Regions from separate parts of the Homo sapiens genome. Here all the other regions are linked to region 4. The links are contacts of gene promoters, found by promoter capture Hi-C in blood cells and fetal thymus (Javierre and others, 2016). All regions are on one chromosome and are shown on one strand. Each heading gives the region's core, a stretch centred on a gene start or on the middle of the fragment in contact. The rest is flanking DNA. Distances are from core to core; before and after follow the strand shown. Region 1 holds the start of CENPE (centromere protein E). Region 2 overlaps BMPR1B (bone morphogenetic protein receptor type 1B). Region 3 holds the start of SMARCAD1 (SNF2 related chromatin remodeling ATPase with DExD box 1). Region 4 holds the start of RAP1GDS1 (Rap1 GTPase-GDP dissociation stimulator 1).

What was found. Contacts are between HindIII fragments. The CHiCAGO score rates a contact against its expected background, and 5 or more counts as called.
Region 1: a contact is called between a fragment that was not itself captured here and the fragment with the promoter of RAP1GDS1 in region 4, in 1 of 17 cell types (total B cells). The highest score is 5.6, in total B cells.
Region 2: a contact is called between a fragment that was not itself captured here and the fragment with the promoter of RAP1GDS1 in region 4, in 4 of 17 cell types (total CD4 T cells, fetal thymus, naive CD4 T cells and 1 more). The highest score is 11.1, in total CD4 T cells.
Region 3: a contact is called between the fragment with the promoter of SMARCAD1 here and the fragment with the promoter of RAP1GDS1 in region 4, in 9 of 17 cell types (naive CD8 T cells, fetal thymus, non-activated CD4 T cells and 6 more). The highest score is 23.5, in naive CD8 T cells.

What each region holds. Positions count from the first base shown.
Region 1 is chr4:103,195,244-103,198,833 of GRCh38, forward strand. It overlaps CENPE (centromere protein E), which reads right to left and starts at 3,100. Exons shown (of 49, transcript NM_001813.3): 1 at 3,021-3,100; 2 at 1,516-1,607; 3 at 920-1,009; 4 at 677-795. The coding sequence starts at 3,076. RefSeq lists an enhancer at 2,962-3,516. The HindIII fragment of the contact is 637 bases long and covers 1,509-2,145 here.
Region 2 is chr4:95,157,793-95,161,166 of GRCh38, forward strand. BMPR1B (bone morphogenetic protein receptor type 1B) reads left to right here. Exons shown (of 13, transcript NM_001203.3): 13 at 1-656. Among named protein-coding and RNA genes, the nearest start is that of UNC5C, 390 kb to the right of the region's middle. The HindIII fragment of the contact is 3,321 bases long and covers 86-3,374 here.
Region 3 is chr4:94,206,496-94,209,651 of GRCh38, forward strand. SMARCAD1 (SNF2 related chromatin remodeling ATPase with DExD box 1) reads left to right here and starts at 1,370. Exons shown (of 24, transcript NM_020159.5): 1 at 1,370-1,575; 2 at 1,851-2,089. The coding sequence starts at 1,900. SMARCAD1-DT (SMARCAD1 divergent transcript) reads right to left here and starts at 1,061. Exons shown (of 9, transcript NR_125922.1): 1 at 1,035-1,061. RefSeq lists enhancers at 989-1,348, 1,447-1,950. The HindIII fragment of the contact is 2,630 bases long and covers 811-3,156 here.
Region 4 is chr4:98,259,373-98,262,975 of GRCh38, forward strand. RAP1GDS1 (Rap1 GTPase-GDP dissociation stimulator 1) reads left to right here and starts at 2,012. Exons shown (of 15, transcript NM_001100427.2): 1 at 2,012-2,197. The coding sequence starts at 2,194. RefSeq lists enhancers at 1,253-1,552, 1,304-1,866 and silencers at 1,833-2,132, 2,233-2,302. The HindIII fragment of the contact is 4,992 bases long and covers 1-3,324 here.

The DNA.
Region 1 (3,590 bases), core at 577-3,076, 4.9 Mb after region 4:
AAAAATTATATAAAAACACCAGGAAGCATCCAATTGTGAAAACCTAATGCTAAATGCTCATGTGCTTAAAGAGGTAAAATGTATGTAAAACAAACTAAGAAACCCCTTGGTTCTACTGTTGACAAAATAATGAACACAAAAATATAAAAGCATCGTTACAGAAATAATGAAAAGTGAAGTACCATAAAGCTGGGAGAACACCAACTCTAGGCTCAAACTCTAGGCTCAAAATAAAACCCTCTCAAAAGATGTTCTTATTTTAATAAAAATGCTAATTTGAAACCAACTAACTCGGTTGCCTATTCTGGCTTTCTGCTTCCCTTCTTTTTTTACCTACATCCACTTTCTACTGTTCCTTTATAATCACTGATAGTTAAATGGTTAGGTGGAGCTAACCATTCTGATAACATTTTCTTGTTCCTTAATGCCTACTTTTTGTTGAGAGTATTATTGTTGCAGAATTCAAGAGAAAGAATAAAAGAACTTTAAGCTTTATAAAGTAAGTTGTGGAGATAAAAGTGAATCTATGCTATGCCTTTCTTCTTTCCCCATGGATAATCAAACAATAACTGTAAATCTACTTCCTTTCATCTTTACAAGAGAAATACACTAAGACTGGTACCCAGTTTTTACTAGTTTTACCTGTACGTACTAGAAATCCAGTTAAGTTACTTACCTTCTTAATTTTTTGGAAAATGTCATGAATTGCCCTGGGTATAACTCCCAAATGATCTTCTGAACCCATCATGGTATATGTTTTTCCTGAAGCAGTCTGTCCATAGGCAAATATAGTACCTGCAAAAAACAAAACACACATACGCAAAGATTAAAAACAAACCTATAATGGGTAAAACTATGCATGCTTGTTGCACAGACGCCCAAGACTAAAATGTTTCTGCAGCATTGAGTGAATACAAACCATTGTAGCCTTGTATGGCAGAATCGATGATTGGTGCTGCTATTTCTTCATACACATTTTTGGTAGTTTCATTACCATGAAAGACACGATCTAAACAACAACAACAACAACAACAACACAGAAGTTAAATCAAATGAGTCCACTGTGTTTTCATTCCAAATTAGTAATTATTCCCAAAAGTAAAACTGTCAGAATGTAGGATGATCAACTATTTAAGACACAGTATTTTTTTCAACTTTTTGGTTCTCTGAAAATACCCTTCCCTAAGGTAAAATGAGTTCATTTTCACACACAAAAAATACACTACAAGTCAACTTTTCTATGTTCTTTCAAGAGGCAATAAGGTATAGTGTTTGCACATGGGGGTCTGGAATCTACCTAGATGCAAATTAGATAACTGTGATTATAACTGTTTTAAATGCCAATTGGTTACCTTACTTAAATACATGATGGATAAACAATTTTGTTTCCAGTGAAGCAGTTTATAGAAGGCTTAGTCTAATCTTTAGTGACAAATCTAATATTATTGATAAGCCTTTTGTACTTTTAATAGCAAAAGGATAACAAGGTAACTTTTGATGCTATTATAAGCTTACCAAAATTGAAGGATTTACTTCCATCAACTTGATAAATGACATTATTGTCAGTTTTCCAGTAAACTTGGGCAGTTTCTCCAAGTGATTCTTCTCTAAAAGAATAAAAACACCGCATTTTAACCAGTCATAAAAGTCATGTCATAGGAGGAATAATTGAAAAGATTTCACCTGCTAAAGAATATTTTGAAAGATAGTAACATAAGAGAATGACAGAAAGTCCATCTTTGAGGATTCAACTCTTAAATGGAGCTTCAGTGACCTTCTGCCGCCTCAAAAGTGTTTTCTTGTGAAGGCTTTCATTCTCACCCTCTCCCCCAGTACTGGTAAACAAAGGGATGGATTCAAAATGCAACTCTGATTATGTCTGTCTTGCTTAAAATTCTTAAAACCTTTTGGAAACTTATGAAATCCTCAGCAGGGCACGAGTCCTAGATCATGTCATTTCTCTCTTCCATTTTCCTCTGAATTCCTAGATACATCCTAAGCTCTACCTGAAGGTCTTCCCCAAATGACAGATGTAACCTCTCTGTGCCTGGAATACTCTGACTTCCCTTTCCATTAAGTAACATAGGGATTATTTCACTCATGAAAAGCGTCAAGACTTTTCTGACACCAGTTCACCCCACGGGAAGCTTTCGTCTCTGATGGGCTAATAACTCCTCTAGCAAACATTCTCTACCTGCCCATCATAACACTTGTCAAAAGGTATCCTAATGGTTTCTTTATGTAGCCGTTTAAGGCATTAGATAATGAGCTCCTCAAAAATAGGAAATTCCTGATCTTGGTATTTGCATTTATTAAACCCCGTGTTCAATAAAAATTTCTCACACACACAAAGTGTTAGCATTTCGGGTCGAGGGCCAGAAGCTAGTGAAGCAAACCGATTTCATTTATTCCTCTTCCTGCTTTTTCTCCCTAGCACTTATTACCTACATATCACCACTTAACATCCTACATTTTCAACTTTACTTTCTGTCTCGTCCCATTAGAATGGAAGAGCCACTGGGCAATGACGGGAGTGTCTGTGTTGTACAAAGTCACTAAAAAAAAATTGATAAATATTTGTAGAATGATCTTGAGTGACGATTGAATGTAATGTGACAAGACAGACTAGCCCTTGTCTTCAGAGGGTCTGGAGACAGCAGTTAGGTGTAAAATGACTAACTGTGATGAGGGCCAGGAAGGCACGGTCCCATACGACTTCTCTAGGCGGGGAATGGGGCAGGGAGGAGCAGATGCCGCAAGGCAGAGCAGCACAGAAGGGAAGGTCTGTATGTCAGCGAGACTGAGTTAAATTTAAGTGAATCTCGCAGCTGGAAAGTATCTTCTAGATCTCCGATCCTCCCCTGTCACTTTACAGACCCTGAAACGATGGCCAGCAGCCGAGTCACTAGACAGCAGAGCCGGGAAGCAGCGGCTCCTGGAAACATCGTAGGCCTCGCCCCTCCGGCTCAGGGCGGCGCCGCAGGCCCAGCGGGCACCGGGCCGTGGTGTGGCCCCCCTACCTGCTGTTCAGCGGCCGCACTCGCACGCAGACGGCCACGGCTCCTTCCTCCGCCATCCTATCAGGCTGAACTGGTCCCAGGAAAATGGCCAGGACCCTCCGCGGCCGGCACTTCAGGGCTCACAGGCCGCCCCGCCTTTAAATTTAAAATTTCCCAAACGCCGCATCTGATTGAGCCGTGGCCTCGTGACGTCATGGGCCATTCCACGTGCGGAGCAGCGCGGGGGACGCAAGGCGGGCGGCGTGACCACTGCTAAACAGGAGAGGGGATTTAAAGGGCCCAGCAGAGAGTCGGAGGAGAGGGCCGAAGGGAGGGGCTCCCAGGAGTGGGCAGAGAGTGGTGGTCCTGGAATACCAGAATACTATTATCTGCCAAAAGCTAGCGAACGTCATCCTCCACCCCATCCTTAAAAAGTTTGGAACCTGTAGACGAAACTAGGTAGAGATACATGTATTTTTCACTACCCAAACAGAATTGCCGTCTTTTAAAGAAACTGCACCAACAGTTTAAAATAAACTTTCAACAGCAAGAGTTGAAATTCGCTGTCCAGTCCAGAAACGTGACAAGCCT
Region 2 (3,374 bases), core at 496-2,995, 3.1 Mb before region 4:
TATGTATGAGGAAACAGGCCTTTGACCTCCTGGAAAGCACTGCTCAAAAGTCATTAGTGCCCATTTTTGAATTCCCCAAACAGAAAGCTTCTTAGAAAACATGCTGAGATTTTATTTACAGGGAATTCTTTGACACATTTCAATTGGTGTGTAGTCAAGTATAGCAAGTACTTAATAATGACTGAATTTCATGTTCCTACAGTCATACATATTCATTAGAAGTTTTATGTTGTTGGTCTGATCTGATTCTTCTTTGTTTGTGGGTGGAACGGCACTGAGAGAAGTATAGTTTTTTAAACTTGAACATGTTCAGTAGTTACATTGCCTTAGAAAACCCAGACACATAGCAGTGGAAATGAAAGAAATGGCATCAGAAGTGACTTAATTTAGCAATTGTGATTCCTCTTGTAAAACAAAACAAAAAAACAATGCCATATTTTTTGGAGAAAAGTTGGCAATATAGGGGTTTCGTTGTCTGTTTCACAAGAAGACTCATTTGTTCTTTTGGGGGAACCAGTGCCTTACAGATTTTGTATATACTGTAATTATTCAGGACTAGGGAACAAACAATTGTATTGTATTTGTTACAGATTGTATATGGCTTTGTTTTAACATTCCCCTAAATAAAATGGCTTCATTCTCCCCTTGGAAAAAAACATGACTGTTATGTTATAGTTGTGCTTATTTATTTATTTATTTATTTATTTATTTATTATCTTTGAAAATATCCCATTGTAGCAGGTGGGAAGGCACCATGAAGGAGGCAGATGCAGGTAAGTTTTTCACATTTCATGGCAGGAGGACAAGAGAAATGGTCTGATGGCTTCTACTTTCTTTGTGAAGGAAACACAGTCATCTACTGAGAGTGAGGGGAAAGGCAGGGAAGTCAGTGGTTTAAGAGAAGTGAAGAAGGTTTAAAATTGCACTGGAAAATTACAGCTTGATGGGGAAAGAGCCAGATGGTTACGGGCAACTCTGAGGGCCAGGTTAGGCTTCCTGAAGCTGACTGTGGCACAGTGGCCAAGCGTAGACTTGGGACTGCCAGGTGGCCTGTTGGTGTGAATCCAGCTTCCCTCACTCCCTCAGTTGTGTGACTGGGCACATTTTGACCTCTTTATCATGCAAATGCAGCAACAGGTCATGGAAAGTAAGAATTATTACTATCAAGGGGCTGATGGGCCAGAGGAGGGAAGGAATTAATTAGAGGAGCTAACAGACCAACAAACAAACAAACAAACGAACAAAAAACCCAGGTCCCAGGACAGGGAATCCTGATGGGGCGGAGGTGGTATCTCCGCAGTTACTGAGAGAGGGGCTGTGGTCAGTTTCTTCCCCTTGAAGATGTTTCTTCCCCTTGAAGATGAGAATGATGTTAATATCCACTATCTGGAGTTGTTCTGAAGATGAAATGACATAATCCATGCACCAAGCATGTGGTAAGTGCTCAACTATAGTATTAACAGAAATTCATAGTGCCACTTTTCTTGTGGTTTATGATTTTTTTTATCTTTTTGTCAGCAACCCAAATACAGGTATAGAGACAACGAAGATAGGATTCATTCAGGGTACTGGTTTATCATGCAAACGCAGCAACAGGTCATGGAAGGTAAGAATTATTACTATCAAGGGGCTGATGGACCAGAGGAGGGAAGGAATTAATTAGAGGAGCTAACAGACCAAAAAAAAAAAAACAAAAAACAAAACAAAACAAAACAAAAACCCAGGTCCCAGGACAGGGAATCCTGATGGGGCGGGGGCGGAGGTGGTATCTCCACAGTTACTGAGAGAGAGGCTGTGGTCAGATTTCAGAGGGGGAGCAGCTGAGAGTGTGATCGCAGGAGGGGGTGAATTTAATTCATAGGCAACATTGTTGGTGATGAAAGAGGAACCCAAATCCTGGCCTTTAGATTTGTTGTCTTCGTGGATTTTGAAGGTGGCAGTCTTGGGAGAGGAAGGTTGTGAGGCAAAATTCTCCAGTGCCACAGGAGAATGGGAAGGGACGCAGGCAGTGAGAGGCAGAGAGAGGGGCTGGCCAGCTGAGCCGGGAGGCCTGACATGCAAAGCATTGAGTTTTTAATGCAATAATCTGGAATCAGCAGTTTTGTATGAGAAAGACCCCACCTGCCTCCCAGCTGTGGAGTATTTGAGATGTGGAAGGAGGAGGCTGTTGCTGCTGCCCCTGAATTGTCACCTCTGCGAAAGGGGAGGGAATGTGTTAGGGCTATTGTTCCAAGCATTGTGGACCCTGGAGGGCAGAATGAGAAGTTTGGTTTGTGAGGGGATCCATTGGAGATTGGATCAGGACCAGGGAAGCCCAAAATTGTCTGGGGAGTGGAGAGTGCAGGAAGGTTTGCGTCTGACGCAGAGAGAATGAAGAGTTTGCGTGAGATTGGTGGTGGTTAGCCAGCTGCACTTGTGTCAAAAGAGTGCATCCTGATGCTGGAATTCAGACTGACCTGCTTAAATTCCACCATTTTCCACTTTTTTCATTCTTTGGAAGTACATAATCTGAGCCCAGTCTTCCCACCTGTAAATTCCCACCTCTTCGCGCTCTTGTGAGGAACCAATAAGATGAGTGTCTGAATTATGTGAGGGCCCATGCCAGGTACATCACAGGTGCTCAGAAATACTGCTCTTTCCCCTTTCTTTCTTTTCTTTCTTTCCTTCCTCTGTTTTCTTTTTTTTCTTTCTTTCTTTTCTTTTCTTTTCTTTCTTTCCCTCCCTCCCTCCCTCCCTCCCTCCCTCCCTTCCTTCCTTCCCTCCCTCCTTCCTTCCTTCCCTCCCTCCCTTCCTCCCTCCTTCCTCCCTCCCTTCCTCCCTCCTTCCCTCCCTCCCTTCCCTTCCCTTCTTTCTTTCTTTCTTCTTTTTCTTTTTTTCTTTCTTTCTTTCTTTTTTTTTTTTGACAAGGTCTCACTCTGTCTTGCCCAGGCTGGAGTGCAGTGGCATGATCATAGCTCACTGCAGCCTCGATCTCCTGGGCTCAAGTGACTCCCATCTCAGCCTCCCAAGTAGCTGGGACTACAAGCATGCACCACCATGGCTGGCTAATTTTATGTTTAGTAGGGACAAGTCCTCACTATGTTTCCTAGGCTGGTCCCAAACTCCAGGGCTCAAGTGATCTCCCCATCTTAGCCTTCCAAAGTCCTGGGATTACAGGCGTGAGCCACTGTGCCTGGCCAATGCTGCTTTTTCTTCCTGCCATTAGTTTAGCAGGATCTACAATTAGCAACATTTAAAACCAGCTGAGATTTGCTATTGGTACATCTCTCCCACCTTCTGTACACCCCACTTCTGTGTGTCATGGGCTCAAGTTAAACTTTTCGCAGAACTCACAGGCATACTGACAGTAAATCTCAGCTGAGGAAAAAAGGTTA
Region 3 (3,156 bases), core at 120-2,619, 4.1 Mb before region 4:
AGGGTAGTGTGGGGCGGGGGAGGACCCCGGTGGTCGGTGAGCATGGTTAATGGGTACGAAAATACAGTTTGAATGAATAAGATCTAGTATTTGATAGCACAATAGCATGACTACAGTCAACAACAATTTATTGTACTTTTTTTTTTGAGACAAGAGTCTTGCTTTGTTGCCCAGGGTGGAGTGCAGTGGAGTGATCTCGGCTAACTGCAACCTCCGCATCCCAGGTTCAAGCTATTCTCCTGCCTCAGCCTCCCGATTAGCTGAGATTACAGGCGCCCGCCACTACGCCCGGCTAATTTTTTGTATATTTAGCAGAGACGGAGTTTCACCATGTTGGCTAGGCTGGTCTCAAACTCCTGACCTTGTGATTCACCTGCCTCAGCCCCCCAAAGTGCTGGGATTACAGGCGTGAGCCACCACTCCCAGCTTATTGTACATTTTTAAATGACTAAAATAACTGGATTGTTTGAAACACAAAGGATAAATGCTTGTTATGGATACCCCACTTACCCTGATATGATTATTACACATTGCATGCCTGTATCAAAATATCTCATGTACCCTATAAATATGTACACCTACTATGTACCCGCAAACATTAAAAATTAAAATATTTTTAAAAAATTAATTAATTAATCAAATTCCATTCTAAGAACAATCAAGCCGAAAGTGAGGAATTACTTTAAATGCTTTGAAGCTCAGCATCCCGGGGTTCTTATCCGTCACTAATTACCTATACATTTGCAGGTCTCAGTTTCTTTGCTTTGTAAACATAGGCTTCTTGTAAGGATTGGGATTATACACTGAAAAAGCTTAGCACAGTATTATTACTATTATGCTATCTACATTATATTATAGGTGAAACACTACAGATTATAATACATACAATATATACTAATTGTATTATATATTGTTATTTTTTGTCATTATGCTATTTACTATTGTTCTATTTAATAACTCTCTAGATAATTTAACAGGACAAAGGTACAGAACAATCTGGCCCTTACAAGCCGGCGGAGACGGGTACGAATTACCATGACAACAGCGCGCGCCTCGACATTGTCGGCTCGCGCGTTGTTTGGGAAGAAAAAGCCTAGGCTGCGTGTTGCGTCATCATTACGCGCTCTTAAGGTTTCTCCGTGGTGTTTTGGAAGGTCCCGGCACGGCTACCGTCGCCCCACGCTAGGAAATTTTTTTTTTATTTTCAACCTTTGTTACATAGCACTGAGGCTACAAGATCGTAAGTACTGAGGGAAGAAAGAACAAGCGAGCGATTGAACGTTAAAAAGATGCCTTAGCATGCACTCCACCTCTGAACCTTCCTGTGTGTTCTTAATCCTATCAGCTTCCTCTCAGCTGGGATCGCGCCGCGTCAACTTCCGGGCGGATGCCCGCCAGCACGGCCTCCGCCGCTCCCCTTCTTTGGCCCCTTTGTGTCCCCGCAGTGTCGAGGCGCGGGCCCTGGCAGGTCCTTTCTCGAGGCAGGGGGCACGGTAGCACAGGGAGCTTCTCTTTGTGGGCGGGCGCGAGGCCCGCTAGGGGGTTATACTGGGGAACGTGCCTGCGCGTGCTTGGGTAAGAGGAGGTTGCATGAGGGTCAGCTCGTGGTTTCAGTAAGGAGGGGCGGGCGGGGGAGGCGGACGAAGGGGAGTGAAAAGCAATGGAAAATTTTAAAAGATACCCCCGTCCACCTTCTAATTGTTGCGGCCTAACAATGAAGCGCAGCCATAACAGTCCTGAGCCACTGGCATGTTTGCGGGCCCTTTATTGCCTTGGGAATAAACTGCTGTGGCATTGTATCGTATATTGTTTTCATGGCCTTTTTTCCTCTCTTTATTTTTCCCCTGCAGATAGTTCATTTAAAGCCCCCATCCCTGCAAGGTGGTGCTTTCTACCAATATGAATCTTTTCAACCTGGACCGTTTTCGCTTTGAGAAAAGGAATAAGATTGAGGAAGCGCCCGAAGCAACCCCTCAACCTTCCCAGCCTGGCCCTTCTTCACCAATTTCTCTTAGTGCTGAAGAGGAGAATGCTGAAGGGGAAGTTAGCAGGGCAAACACTCCTGATTCAGATATAACTGAAAAAACAGGTGAGTTACAATGTTAAAATTGATGTAACATCAAGGACAGTTTTTAAAAGATGAAAGGCAGAAGGGATTCTCATTTTTATTCTTGATGTCATATATATTGATGCATTGTCCTGCGGTGTGCCCTTTTAAATACAGCTTTGGGACTGCCATAAGCACCATGTACCCTCAACTGAGCATCCATCCATTGTCGCCTCACTTTTATATGAGTTCTTCGAATATGGCCCCATGGTGGAAGTTGAAATTAGAATTTAGGGCATCCATAGGTCAGAACGGTTGCTATTGGAAGAGCGATGTCAGTGATTCAGTCCTATGATAAACTTTGAGGCTATTTGGGCAGACATTTTCATTCATTCCAGTATTCCCTCAAAATATTGATCATCTACTGTGAGCTAGACATTGAGCAAGGTGCCTAAAGACAACCTCTGTACACAAGGGAAGATCAGATCACATCAAGTTCTTGCATCCACCTGACTTCCTGGATGTCCTCAGAATGCAAATGAGTAATTGGTATTCTTCATGGTGAATGAACATTTTTAACCTCATCAGCAGATTGTCAGAGACAAAAGTATTTGAGGATAAGCCAAAAATTAAGATTTCCACTCGAATCTATGTTCATTGAACAGTTAACTATTAGAGGAATATATTTGAGCTCTTGTTGTATTATAGGAATAGTGATAAGTGCTTCACCTTCTGTCATTTAATTTGCACAATAATCCTACAAGGTAGATATTACTGACATAGAGGTTAATGTGAAATGAGATTCAGAGAGGTTATTAGGAACTTGGTAGAGCCTGAACTCAAGTCCTGGCAGTATGATTCCTGAGCATAAACTAATTAGTTAGTTTCTTAGGAAAGGTGAAAGGAATGTTGGAAGTTATATTTTAATATTTATTTCAGTAATATCTTTTTTTATGCAAAACTCTGTTTCGTAAACAGCTTTTAACTTAATGTAGCCTGAAAGATTGGTAACACACATGTTTATCCTTGGTATCTTTTTGTTTGCCACCCTTCTACTTAAATGTAATAATGATGGCAGATCCTCTGCAAGTTATCATTAGAATAACATT
Region 4 (3,603 bases), core at 762-3,261:
CTGGCTAATTTTTTGTATTTTTAGTTAGAGATGGGGTTTCGTCATGTTGGCCAGGCTGGCCCTATTCATATGTAGAAGTCCTAACCCTTAGTCCCTTAGAATGTGACCTGATTTGGAAATAGGGTCATTGCAGATATAATTAACGTCCATGAGGTCATACTGGAGGATGGTTCGCCCCTAATCCGTTATGACTGCTGTTCTTATTAAAAAGGGAAATTTGAACACACAAGCACACTGGGAGAACAGCCATGTTCAGATTGGAGTTACGCTACCATATGCCAAGAAACTACCAGAAGCTAGGAGAGGCATGGACGAGATCCCTCCCCAGTGCCCTCAGAGGGAGTACAGCCCTGCCTACACCTTGATTTCAAACTTCTGGCCTCCAGAATTGTGAGATAATAATTTGTTGTTTTAAGTCACCCAATTTGTGGTATGTTACGGCAGCCCTAGGGAACTAATGTAGTGCGATTATTTTAAGAGGCAAACAAGAAGAACATCCTAAGAGTGAGGTGCCTGATAGTCTCATGCATCAGAAAAGTCCCATATATTTGACTTCAGCAGTTAAATTGTATTTTCCTGTTTTACCAAACCTTTTTAATTATCGTTTCTTGCTGTAGAAAAATCACATAAAATCTGCTCTTTGCTTAACAAATTACAGGGTCGCTTCTGATTTGTGTGCTCGAAATACTAGTCACCAAGCAGAAACTGATGACTGTGAGAATAGGCGACTAATTAACAAACAAACAAAAAAAGCCCTTTCTCAACATTGGATTGACCGAGTGAAAGTTGACAGGGGAAAGACACCTCGATTCAGCCATCTTTCTCCAACAGGTTGTACTGCTGACTGCACAGTGTCCCCTGAAGGACTCCGGTCGCTGTAGCCTTGGAGAGCGACCAGATTCCTCACCCCACTCAGGAGGAGCCAGGGCAAGATTAGGGTGCAGAGAAATCGGTTTCCTCCAGCCTCCTACCCCAGGGAAGAGGACCGAAGCCAGCCCCGGCCTCACGTGCATGCCCAGTCGGGAGGACGCCCTCAGTGGGAGAGCCCTGCTCAGGTTCTCCCCGAGGCCGAGGTGGTGGTGGGAGCGGGCGGTGGCCCCGGGATCAAAGGACCTCCGCCGGGTTAGCTTTGGCAGTGCCGCAGCCAACCCAGCAGGACGCTTATTTTCAAGCCTGGGGAACGTAGTTCCTCCCGCTTTCACAGCAGGATGGAGCCCGACGGCACCCCGGTTAAAGGGCCTTTCCAGAGCCCTCCGGGGAACGGAAGGCCGCGCTCCTCCGGGAGGGAGAACGACACACTCTTCGAGGAAATCCTGGGGCGGGCGCTCTCCTCGCTGCCGGGACCTTTGTTTCTAAGCTGGCCACAGCTAGAGCAGCCTTAAGTGTCCCAATGACACGCCTGCTATCGAGCGCCCTCCCGGCGGCCCCTCCTCAGCCAGCTGCCCAGCGGGCGTCCTCAGGTGTCCCCAAGAGGCGCAGGCCTAGTCGCCTACACGTCCTTTCCAACTTCGTCAGCTCTGGCTTCCCACCACCCCTCCCGGCTCTGCGGCGGCCCAGCCTCTTCTCCGGTTAATTCCGGCCTGTGCGGCCCGGTCGTCCCGTAAAGAAGGCAAGCCCGGGTTCCGGGTGAGGGGTTGGTGGGTCAGGGTGGGAAAGCAAGGCAGCGGTGAGTCCTCTGCTAGCAGATCGGGCTCAATATCCCCATTCCCTGTTTTCTCCGGGCCCGCCCTCCGCCTCTCAGGCGGCCGCCATGAAGATCCTCTGCCGCGGCTGCAGCCGGTCTGCAAACACACGCCCACCCGCACGCTTAGCCTCGCTCGCCACAGAGGGAGGGGTGGAAAAGGCACTGAGCATGCTCGGTGGGGAGGGCGGGGCGCTCGTGGGCTGCGAGTCGGGGCCGGAGCTCTTCAGGCCGGCTCCCGCGCCTCCGCCGCCCGCCCGCTCGGAGCCGCGCCCGCCGCAGGCTGCGCCCGCCAGTCCCGCCCCGCCCCGCCCCGCCCCGCCCCCCGCCGCTCGTCCCCGCCGCGGCCGCGCCGCCTGCAGCAGCACCAGCTGCTCCTCCCCGGCGGCCGCCCCCCGCGGGTCCCTCCCTGGCTGCGGGAGAGACGGAGGTAGAGGGAGGACACAGAGCCGCGCCGCCCGCACCACAGACCTTCGCCTCGCCCCGCCGGTTCCTCACCCTCGGGGAGCAACATGGGTAAGTCATCCTTCCTCCGCCGTCATCGCCTGACATTTTTTTCTTTCTCGGCGTGCTGCAGGGTGGGAAGCATTTCTCGCGCAAAGTTGCCGGATTTCTCCAGTCCCCGGGTGTGAGACGGTGGCTGTTCCTCCGGGGAGAGTCGGCGCACGCGGAACGCACGCCGGGTGCCGGGGCTGGGAGGGTCCCGAGCGCGGGCTGGGGTGGGGTCGGCCGCGGGCCGGACCGCCGCCCGGCTCCCCGGCACCTCGCAGCCTCGCCTCCCCTCCTCCATTCTTCCTGCCGGTGCCCGGGCACCACGGAGCCTGCCTCGCGGGCTCGCATCTGCAGCTCCATCCCCGTTTCTCCAGAGGCCGCCCGCTTCCTTTTCCCCCGCGTGTACTGAGCTCGAGGCTCGGGTCCGACCACTACCACTTCGTGTAACTTCCTTCTCTGTCAGTGCGACCTTTCCCCGTCGTGGAGACTCCTCATCCCGGGCGGGGAAGTGGAAGCAAGTAGTTTGTGAGGGAGATCTTACAACCTGCACGGAAATTATTTTCCAAGGGGGAGAGCGGACAGCCTCATAGGTTGAAAGGATGACTTGTCAGAGGCCACGAGGAACGTGAGGCAGGATAGAGCCGCTAGCTGTTGAATTAGTGCTGGGTGACTACAGTGTGCAATATTCCCGTGCCCAGCCTATTTTCTGGATTCCTTCGTCCGTCTTCTGTAGCAGGAAACTGCGCCCTGTAACGTTGTTACCGAACTTACATGGTAGTTATTCTTTCCCAGCTTCCTCCTGTCTAATCTGCATAATCTGATTTTAGTTCCTTTGTATTTATAGTTAATCTGAAGAGATTGGTTTGGATGAGAGATTTAAGAGCAAATATGTTTTATAAAACGATATATACATTTGACCTAATTTTTTTACATCATCTATTGCTTAACTGTTACATTCAGTAATCACAGAAACGTCTGATGAATGCTGTCATGTAATTAAGAGCTCAAAGTTTCTTTTAATAGTAGCGACTTGTACTAAGTTCCCCAGTTTGCTTCCACTCCTGTCTGTCATAATTTCCTCTTTTTAAAATTTGCTCCCTTGGCATCTGTCAGCTGGGACTTTTCCCACCCCTTCTGTGCGAGTTATTTAAAGCTTGAGATGAATGTGGTCCTTTCATCTGTTAATACAGTGCTCAACACGTTCAGAGTTAGGTGGTGCAACTCAGAATCTTCAAGAAGTATCTAAACCTGGGAATGGTGTCCATAGAGTTTTCTGGAACAGCAAATGCTTCAGGCTTTGATCCCGACCTTTGGCCATATATCTGGAAGAGGCCAGGGTTGACGGAGGAGGTGGTATGAATCAAAAAAGGTCTAGGGCTCTGAATTTTATTTTCAGTTGTTTTTTCTTTTTAACGTGAGTACTCGATATG